Regions from separate parts of the Homo sapiens genome. Here region 1 is linked to region 2. Evidence: promoter capture Hi-C in human tissues and cell types (Jung and others, 2019). All regions are on one chromosome and are shown on one strand. Each heading gives the region's core, a stretch centred on a gene start or on the middle of the fragment in contact. The rest is flanking DNA. Distances are from core to core; before and after follow the strand shown.

Region 1 (3,859 bases), core at 1,335-3,834, 1.0 Mb after region 2:
GCAGGTGAGTAAGCATTACCACCTGAGCTCTGCCTCCTGTCAGATCAGCGGGGGGCATCAGATTCTCATAGGAGCATGAACCTTATTGTGAACTGCACATGTGAGGGATCTAGGCTGTGAGCTCCTTAGGAGAAGCTAATGCCTGATGATCTGAGGTGGAACAGTTTCATCCCGAAGTCATGCCCCTTCCACCTGCCATTGGTTCATGGAAAAATTATCTTCCAGGAAACCAGTTTCTGGTGCCTGGTTGGGGCCCACTGCACTATGGGGGATAGCAAGGCTGCTGCTTGGGTACGTGCTGCTTCTCTGTTAAAATATCCTGCTAGGCATATGCAATCCTGCAGGCACATGACTTGGCAAGGTCTGTTCTTTATACGAAGAGAAACATGCTCCTTCTTTGGGGGACATTACCCTGCCCCAGTGCACAGCTTGCTGAGCAAAGTGCAGCTTAGATTTCAGCCCCTCCCTGACTCCTCAACTGGCACCACCATTTGTGACAACTCCAGAGCTGACTGCCTGGGAGGAAACAGAAGGAACCAGGGCCTCTCGGCCTCTCGGAGTCTCTTCAAAGTCAAACAGCTTGTGTGGTGGGAACAAGATGACGGGGAGTCAGAAGGATGGGTGCTGTGGTCACAGCATGAAGCACGGGGTGTAAGACTTCTGGGGGGATCCTCAGCGTGGGATAGCAAGTCCTGTGGGAGGGTGGAGTGCAGTGGTGATAAGATCTTGAAACTGAGGAAGCAGTTTGAGAGGCAGATCATCTATAGGGGTATTAAAAATTGAGTGGAAGAAAATGAAGAATGAAGCCTCAGTGAGAGAATCACAAGGAAACAGTAGGTGACAATGAGAGGAGGTAGAGCCAGGTGGTAATAGCCTCGGACGACTTCACACAGGGGCAGAGTAGCCATGGGAGCAAACAAGCGACAACCACAACAGTCTAGCTTTCCTCTCCTGGCCCCTTGCTACCTGGAACATCAATTTGTTCATTTAAGCAAATATTTATTTATTTAAACCAATAATGAACCTCCATGTCTTAGTTGGCTCAGGCTGCCAGAACGAAATACCATGGCTTAAACAATAGGAATTTATTTTTCATAGTTCTTGTAAGAGTCCATTCTCGCACTGCTTTAAAGGAATACCTGAGACTGGGTAATTTATAAAGGAAAGAGGTTTAATTGGCTCACAGTTCTGCAGGCTGTACAGGAAGCATAGCGGCTTCTGCTTCTGGGGAGGCTTTAGGAAGCTTCCAACCATGCTGGAAGGCAAAGCAGGAGCGACAGGTCCCACATGGAGGGAGCAGGAGCAAGAGAGAGAGGGAGGAGGAGGTGCTGCACACTTTTAAACAACCAGATCTGACGAGAACTCCCTCACTATCCCAAAGAGAGTACCAAGTGGGGGGGGTGGTGGTGTTAAACCATTCATGAGAACCCGCCCCTATGATCTAGTCACCTCCCACCAGGCCCACCTCCAACACTGGGAATTGCAATTCTACATGAGATTTGGGTGGGGAGACAGACCCAAACCATATCAGTTCTGGAGTCTGGAAGTCGGAGATCAGGGTGTCAGCCAGCATGGCTGGGGTCTGGTGATGGCCACCTTCTCACTGTGTCCTCGCCTGAGGTCGGGGCAGAGAGAGAGAGCACATATGAGCTCTCTGGTGTCTCTTCTTATAAGGACACTAATCCCACCATGAGGGTCCTACTCTTACGACCTCATCTGAACCTAATCACCTCCTAAAGACCCCCTCTCCAAACACCATCACATTGGGCAACCCAACTTGTTATCTCCAGCCTGAGCCTCCCCCCAGAACTCTTGGACCCCTGTGCTTCATGCTGTGACCACAGCTCCCATCCTTCTGACTCCCCGTCATCTCGTTCCCACCACAAATATTCTTTGACTTTGAAGAGACACCGAGAGGCCAAGAGGCCCTGGGTGCCTCTGTTTCTTCCCAGGCAGTCAGCTCTGGAATTGTCAGAAATGGTGGTGCCAGCTGAGGAGCTCCTCAGTGGGCTTCAATGCATGATTGGGGAGGGGAGGGACACAACTCAGTCCACAGCACTCCACTATCTGTGAACAAAAACAAAGTCTCTATTCTCATGAAGCTTACTTAGCTTCTACTAGAGGGAGGTGGACAATAAACAAAAAATAAATAAATGATATATTGAGGTAACAAGGCCATAAAAAGATTAGGTTGGTGGGGTGAGGAGCGGCTGGGCATTACTCTGTATAGAATGAACATGGAAGATGAAGGAGTAAGACAGTGAATATCTGTGTGAAGAGTTTTCAAGTCTGAGAGCAGCAAGTGCAAACACCCTGAGGCAGGATCAGGTTTTACCTGTGGAGCTGCCGAAGAGAGAGGGAGGAGGAGGAAAGTAGAATTTGTATTCGTTGGAGTGTAACTGGGGGGCCAACCACGTAGGCGCATTGTAAAGACTTCAGCTTTTACAGCTGAAGGTGGAAAGCCATGGCAGGTTAAAGGGGAGGGAGGTGACATGACCGAGAAAGGGAGGATGGGAACCCTGAGGTGAGAAAGTGACACGGGGGTGCTCCTCGGGAGAAAGGTGTGTTGCAGAAAGGACAAGGAGGTGGCAGCAGAGTGGTTTGGATAGGCTGAGTGTAGTGGTGTGAGGGTCCCACAGGCACAGACCCCTGGGGTCTGCAGCAGCCAGAAGGGGCTGCCCTGTGGGAGACCCATTCTGGGGAAGGGCTGAGGTTCCATGTGGAAGCCGCCGGCAGCAAGTTCCACAAGGTCTCAGGATGGAAGATGAGAGGGGATATGGCAAAGCCTGGGTGCCTCTTAGAATGTGCAGAAAGGCTTTCTGGAGAGTAGGCAGAGGGCATGAGTCTCTCTGGCCAAGAGCTGCCTCCTGCTACGTTTTGAGAGGAAAAGGTAGCACAGTGGAAACTAGGAAAGCTGTCCAGCCAGGAAAAGCCCCCATCCCTGAGATCTGGGTCAGCCTAAAGGTTCTGATGCTTTGGTGAGCCGGAGGAGGAGCTTCACAAGGAAGAGTCACTGGAAGGAGAAACCAGAAGCAGGGAGGGAAGGGCTGCCACCTGAGGAGACGTCCTCCTTCACGACTTTGCTGGCCTGGTCACCTGGGCCTGCAGGGGAAGGGCAGGGAGGTGCCACCTATTGTGAAGGAAAATCAGCCACAGTGTATGTCTAAGCAAAAGCCACTCTCCAAACCCTCGTTTGCAATTTTGTCACTTCTTTGGCAACAAGCCCCCTGCAGCTGTTCCACCCAGAGCCTCTGCCAGGTGACCTGGCCGTGCCCAGTGCCCCACAGCTGCAGCCTGCTGGCGGGGACTCCAAGTCTCCCCTGCTCCCAGCTTTCCTGACTCGGGGCTGTTGGGCTTGGAGGGAGCTGCATTGGGGGACAGGTGAGGGAGGAGGCCGGGGCACCAGCAGGAAGCTCTGGCTCTCCTTCTCTTTCCTGGTAAAAGCAAGGCACAAAGCACTCTTTGATCTGTGCCCTCTGCCAGTTCTGGCAGGGCTGCGCTTGTCACTGTTCCAAAAAAGAGCAGAAGGTTACTTAGCTATGGATGAATAATAATTGGGCATTTGTCTAACAGCTACTGTACTGATGAATAATTAAAATTTTTATTACAATTGAGGCAAAGAGCACTCTACCCATACGGATGGTCTGTCAGCTCTGCCAGAGGAAATGCAGGTAATTGAAGAGTGTCCTCCAAGTTCTGAAATAATAGTCATGATCATGGCAAAGATGTCTGGGTTAAAAGCTGGGAAAATAGGTGGACAACCAGACCCAATCACCAAGGCTTCTTCCTTTTTGGGATGTAATAAGGTAAATCGGCTAAAGCTGGTCTTGGGAGTGCAAATGGCTGGAACAGTCAGGGA
Region 2 (4,231 bases), core at 1,161-3,660:
TGAAATGGTGCAACCACTCTATAGAACTCTGGCAGTTTTTTCTTAAGTTAAACATACACTTATCATATGATTTGACATTTTTACTCATAGGTATTTACTCAAGAGTGAGGAAATTGTATATCCAGAAGAAGAGAAATACATGAATGTTGATATCAGTTTTATTTATAATGGCCAATAATTGAAAACCATTTGAATGTTCATTAACAGGAAAGAGAAATTTTTTAATGTGGTATATCCAACACTACTCAGGAACACTGCTCAGGAACAAACTACTGATTAATACAACAAAACAGAAGAACTTCAAAAACATTATGCTGAGTTAAAGAAGCCTCACATATAACAATACACACTCTATAACTGTATGTGTGTGTGTGTGTGTGTATATATGGCATCTATATATCTATATCTATAGATATATAGATGCATAAAATTCTAGAAATCAAAAACTCTCTTATTGTTACCAAAAGCAGATAAGTAGTTGCTTGGGAAAAAGGGCTGGAGGGGAGAGGGTAAACTGCAAAGGGCACTGACATTGTGGTCACACAAGTGTATACATTGTCAAAACTCTAACTGAAATGTGGACTAACATGTTGCATTTTATTATATGTAAATTATACCTCAATAATATTTACTTTAAAAGGCATAATGTAAAATATGTATGTACACATACATACAATATAATTACTAAAAAACCGTTATCTTTTTATGTGGCAGTTACTCATATTAAACTTTTTAACCCTCTCAATTCTCTCAACACATCAGTATAGTAATAGTGGCAAGTCCAAACTTCCCTAATTCTATTCCAAATAACTGTTCTAATTATCTGTAGCTCACCATTTAAATAGGAGTACTTGAGATAATAAAATAATTACCTAAATCACCCATCTCAATGAATGATTTAGAATTGAAGAGCCATTGCCAAACAAAAGATTGTAGATTTACAATTAACATCTAAGTATGCTGTAGTATATGTTTTTAATTTACAATAGAATCTGCCAATAATTTCCTCAAATAAGTTTCAAATTCCTAATAATGTAGAAATACATGTCATAAATACATAATATTCTTAGGTAAGATGCTATTATAGAGAAGAATTTAAAACATTTACAGTGACCTTCACAATAAAAGAAACCAGGGGAAGCATAAAATATCTTTTAAACTCCTTGTAGACTCCTGTTTCTGTCTGCAATATTCAATAATCTGTGGTCTGAATGGCTTATGAAATTGTGAGTTTCTCATCGTTTAGCCCATACCTTAGCTGCCACCAAAAGAAAGGCCTGTCTTAACTTAGCGTTTCCTAGAATCAGAAGAAAGGAGTGGCTTGAAGGAGAGAAGACTCCAATCGTCTCACAAAGCATGTAGATCACTGTGTTCTGATACAGCTCAGAAATCCATGATATGAGAACACATAGAAAGAAACTAGCATAGAATAAAAGGAATGAGATCACAATTTTCAAGGCATTTGTATGGACCTTGGTCCTGGGGTCTCTGTGTCCTTTGTAATTGAGTTGCATTTTCTGGAGATGTTTCTGCAGGGAGAAAATTAACAGGAGAAAAGAGATGAAGGCCACAGTAAATGGTGTTAGACTGAACATAGTCATAGTGAATTTGACCGACACTGAAAATGTTTCAAAGTCACTCATACTGAAATTCCAAGTTGTGTTTCTTTCATATCGGTCCAGCCAGTCTTTTATATGCATGTTTATTTGTATCAGATTTAAAAATAAGAAGACCAAGGTTCCTAGCAGTATCATCAGAATCACTTTGTTTACTCTCCACTTCAAATAGAGAAAAGCAGGGCTAGAGAAACTCGCTATTTTGAGCAAATAAAAGATGCTGAAGATTGTAGCAAGCCAGAGATTGAAGTGATTAGAAACTATCCAGCTAAAAATCATAATTCTTAATCCTGTTCCAGACACAAATATGGCTAGATAATGCAGAGCTAAAAACCAACTTACTAATATTTCCCAGATCAGCCCAATTCTGGAGATTGCCAAGATAATGAGGAGTTTATCGACTGAGGACAGCTCTCTTTTACTGACCCAGTCAATGCAGTTGATCAGTACTATAAATCCATTGCTCAAATTCCCAATTATGAATTCTGCAATTATTACAAGAGTGAAGATACTCGGCAGGGCACTTTCCATGTCAGAACAGAGAAAGTTCAATGTCTAATGTCACTGCTGGTTATTCACTGATCTAAAATGCTATTCACATCCTTGAGTGTCCAGTGGAGTTCTTCTTCCTTCTCCTTTTTCTGCTCCTTCTTTCATTGTTGGCTCAACGTCAAAGCAGAAATCTCTAAAGTTTGCTGATCGATCTTCACATAACTGTTCTGGTGATATCTTTATTTTTCTTCAATTTCTCTGCTGAGCCCTAGCTAAGATATTTATGTCTTCACCATGGGCAGAAATATTTCATAGATGATTATGCAGCAAAGTTAAACTCACATTTGCAACCATGCAAATAAAGATATATTCTCTTTCATTGTTTTGTACTTTTTTGCCTTGTCTGAGCATAGAAAATTAGATTCAACCAGCTTGAGTTCTGAGGTACAAATATTATAAAAATCTGATTCATAGAATATGTAGCTAAATGAAGCTTTTATGGCTAATAGCATAGCCAATGAAGCTTTATAAAATATGCAAAGACTTACCTATGCTATTTCAAAAGAGTGCTCAATTTCTTGTGGAGCTAAAGCTGGATCTGGTCAATACTGTGACTAAAGAGAAACTCGTTTACAAAGCATCCATCTTTCTCATTCCCTGCCTCATCACTACTTAGCAGTGCTCACCACCATCCCTCCATAGGCACCAAATGCCTTCACATTTTATCCGCTTTTCCCCTCATATTTCTTTTTTAAACTTAAAAGTGATAAAAAAACAAATTTTACAAAATCAGCAACAGCTACCAAAGAAAGCAGTACTATATTACATCATAACTTGCAAAACTGAAAACCAAGCAAAGAAATAGATACACTAGTTCCCCTTATCCATGAGGCCTATGTCCCAAGACCCCCAGTGGATGCCTAAAACAGCAGATAGTACCAAACTCTATATACAATATATTTTTTTCCTGTATTCACCTACCTATGATAAAGTTTAATTTGTAAATCAAGCACAGTAAAAGATTACAAAAATAACTAATAATAAAATAGAACAATTAAAACAATATACTATAATAAAAGTTGCCAGGGGTTGTGGCTCATCCCTGTAATCCTAGCAATTTGGGAGATTGAGGCGGGAGGACCGCTCGAGCCCAAAAGTTTGAGACCGGCCTGGGCAACATAGGGAGACCCTGTATCTAAAATAAATAAAAATTAAAAAAATAAAAAGTAAAAAAATGTGTTAAAATATATAGTGTGGTGTCTCTCACTCTCTCAAGATACCTTACTGTACTGTACACACCTATTTTTGGACTGTGGTTGACCTTGGGTCACTGAAACTGCAGATAAGCGGGGACTAATGTGTTCATTGTGAAGAGTCAAGGTTCCTCACCCCGCCCCACTCTTTCAAAAACTACCGAAAAAAAGTGGATTACCAAAATTCTGAAAACGTGGAGACTCAAGAAAGATTGTCTAATTCAAAATTAATATAAATAAAACACTTTATCTTGATTATAAGATAATAAGTAGCCATTTAGCTAGATGAATACAAAGCTATTTTTATTTAATAAAGATATAATTTGTGAATTATGAATGTTTGTATTTTATTACTCATGCAATCTTTATTGGGTGATCTACAGAGTACTAAAAAATTTACAAAATAATTGCATCATCTTTAATGATTTGCAAGTTTCAATTATAACTTAAAATAGGTAGATATTTTCTATTTTGTTGTTATAATGGTATATTTGTCAAGATAGAATAGAAAATGTCTCCTTTAACAGTTTGTTAGGTTTGTATATTTATGACCTTTAAATATGTAGCTATGTGGCATGTGGTCTTCCATTTGCATTCTTGACCCAGGGCTGAAGAGATCTTTTATACTTTTTCATTTTAGGGTGTTCTTCCTACCTATCTAGAGAAAAGGGTTTGGGGATGCCGGTCACAACTTGATAATACCCCAAATCTGTACAAATAGGCCTGAGGAATGGTACTGTACTTGCTGGTATATGAAAAAATACCACAGTTTTTAGAACTTGTGATATAACACATGACAAAGACATAGAGAATGGATAACAGGCTTGCGGTTCTGAGCTGCATTTTCCTGGTGTGTTTCCATAAGAGAAA

The links. Contacts are between HindIII fragments. The study calls those that stand out against the background at their distance.
Region 1: a fragment that was not itself captured here is called in contact with the fragment with the promoter of TAS2R13 in region 2 in 1 of the 25 tissues and cell types used here (mesenchymal stem cells).

What each region holds. Positions count from the first base shown.
Region 1 is chr12:11,946,846-11,950,704 of GRCh38, forward strand. No RefSeq gene overlaps it. Among named protein-coding and RNA genes, the nearest start is that of BCL2L14, 120 kb to the right of the region's middle. RefSeq lists an enhancer at 2,979-3,763. The HindIII fragment of the contact is 4,348 bases long and covers 411-3,859 here.
Region 2 is chr12:10,907,152-10,911,382 of GRCh38, forward strand. It overlaps TAS2R13 (taste 2 receptor member 13), which reads right to left and starts at 2,411. Exons shown (of 1, transcript NM_023920.2): 1 at 775-2,411. The coding sequence starts at 2,147. The coding sequence ends at 1,236. The region is part of intron 4 of PRH1-PRR4 (PRH1-PRR4 readthrough); the gene reads right to left. It also overlaps a transcript of PRH1 not described here. The HindIII fragment of the contact is 21,748 bases long and covers 1-4,231 here.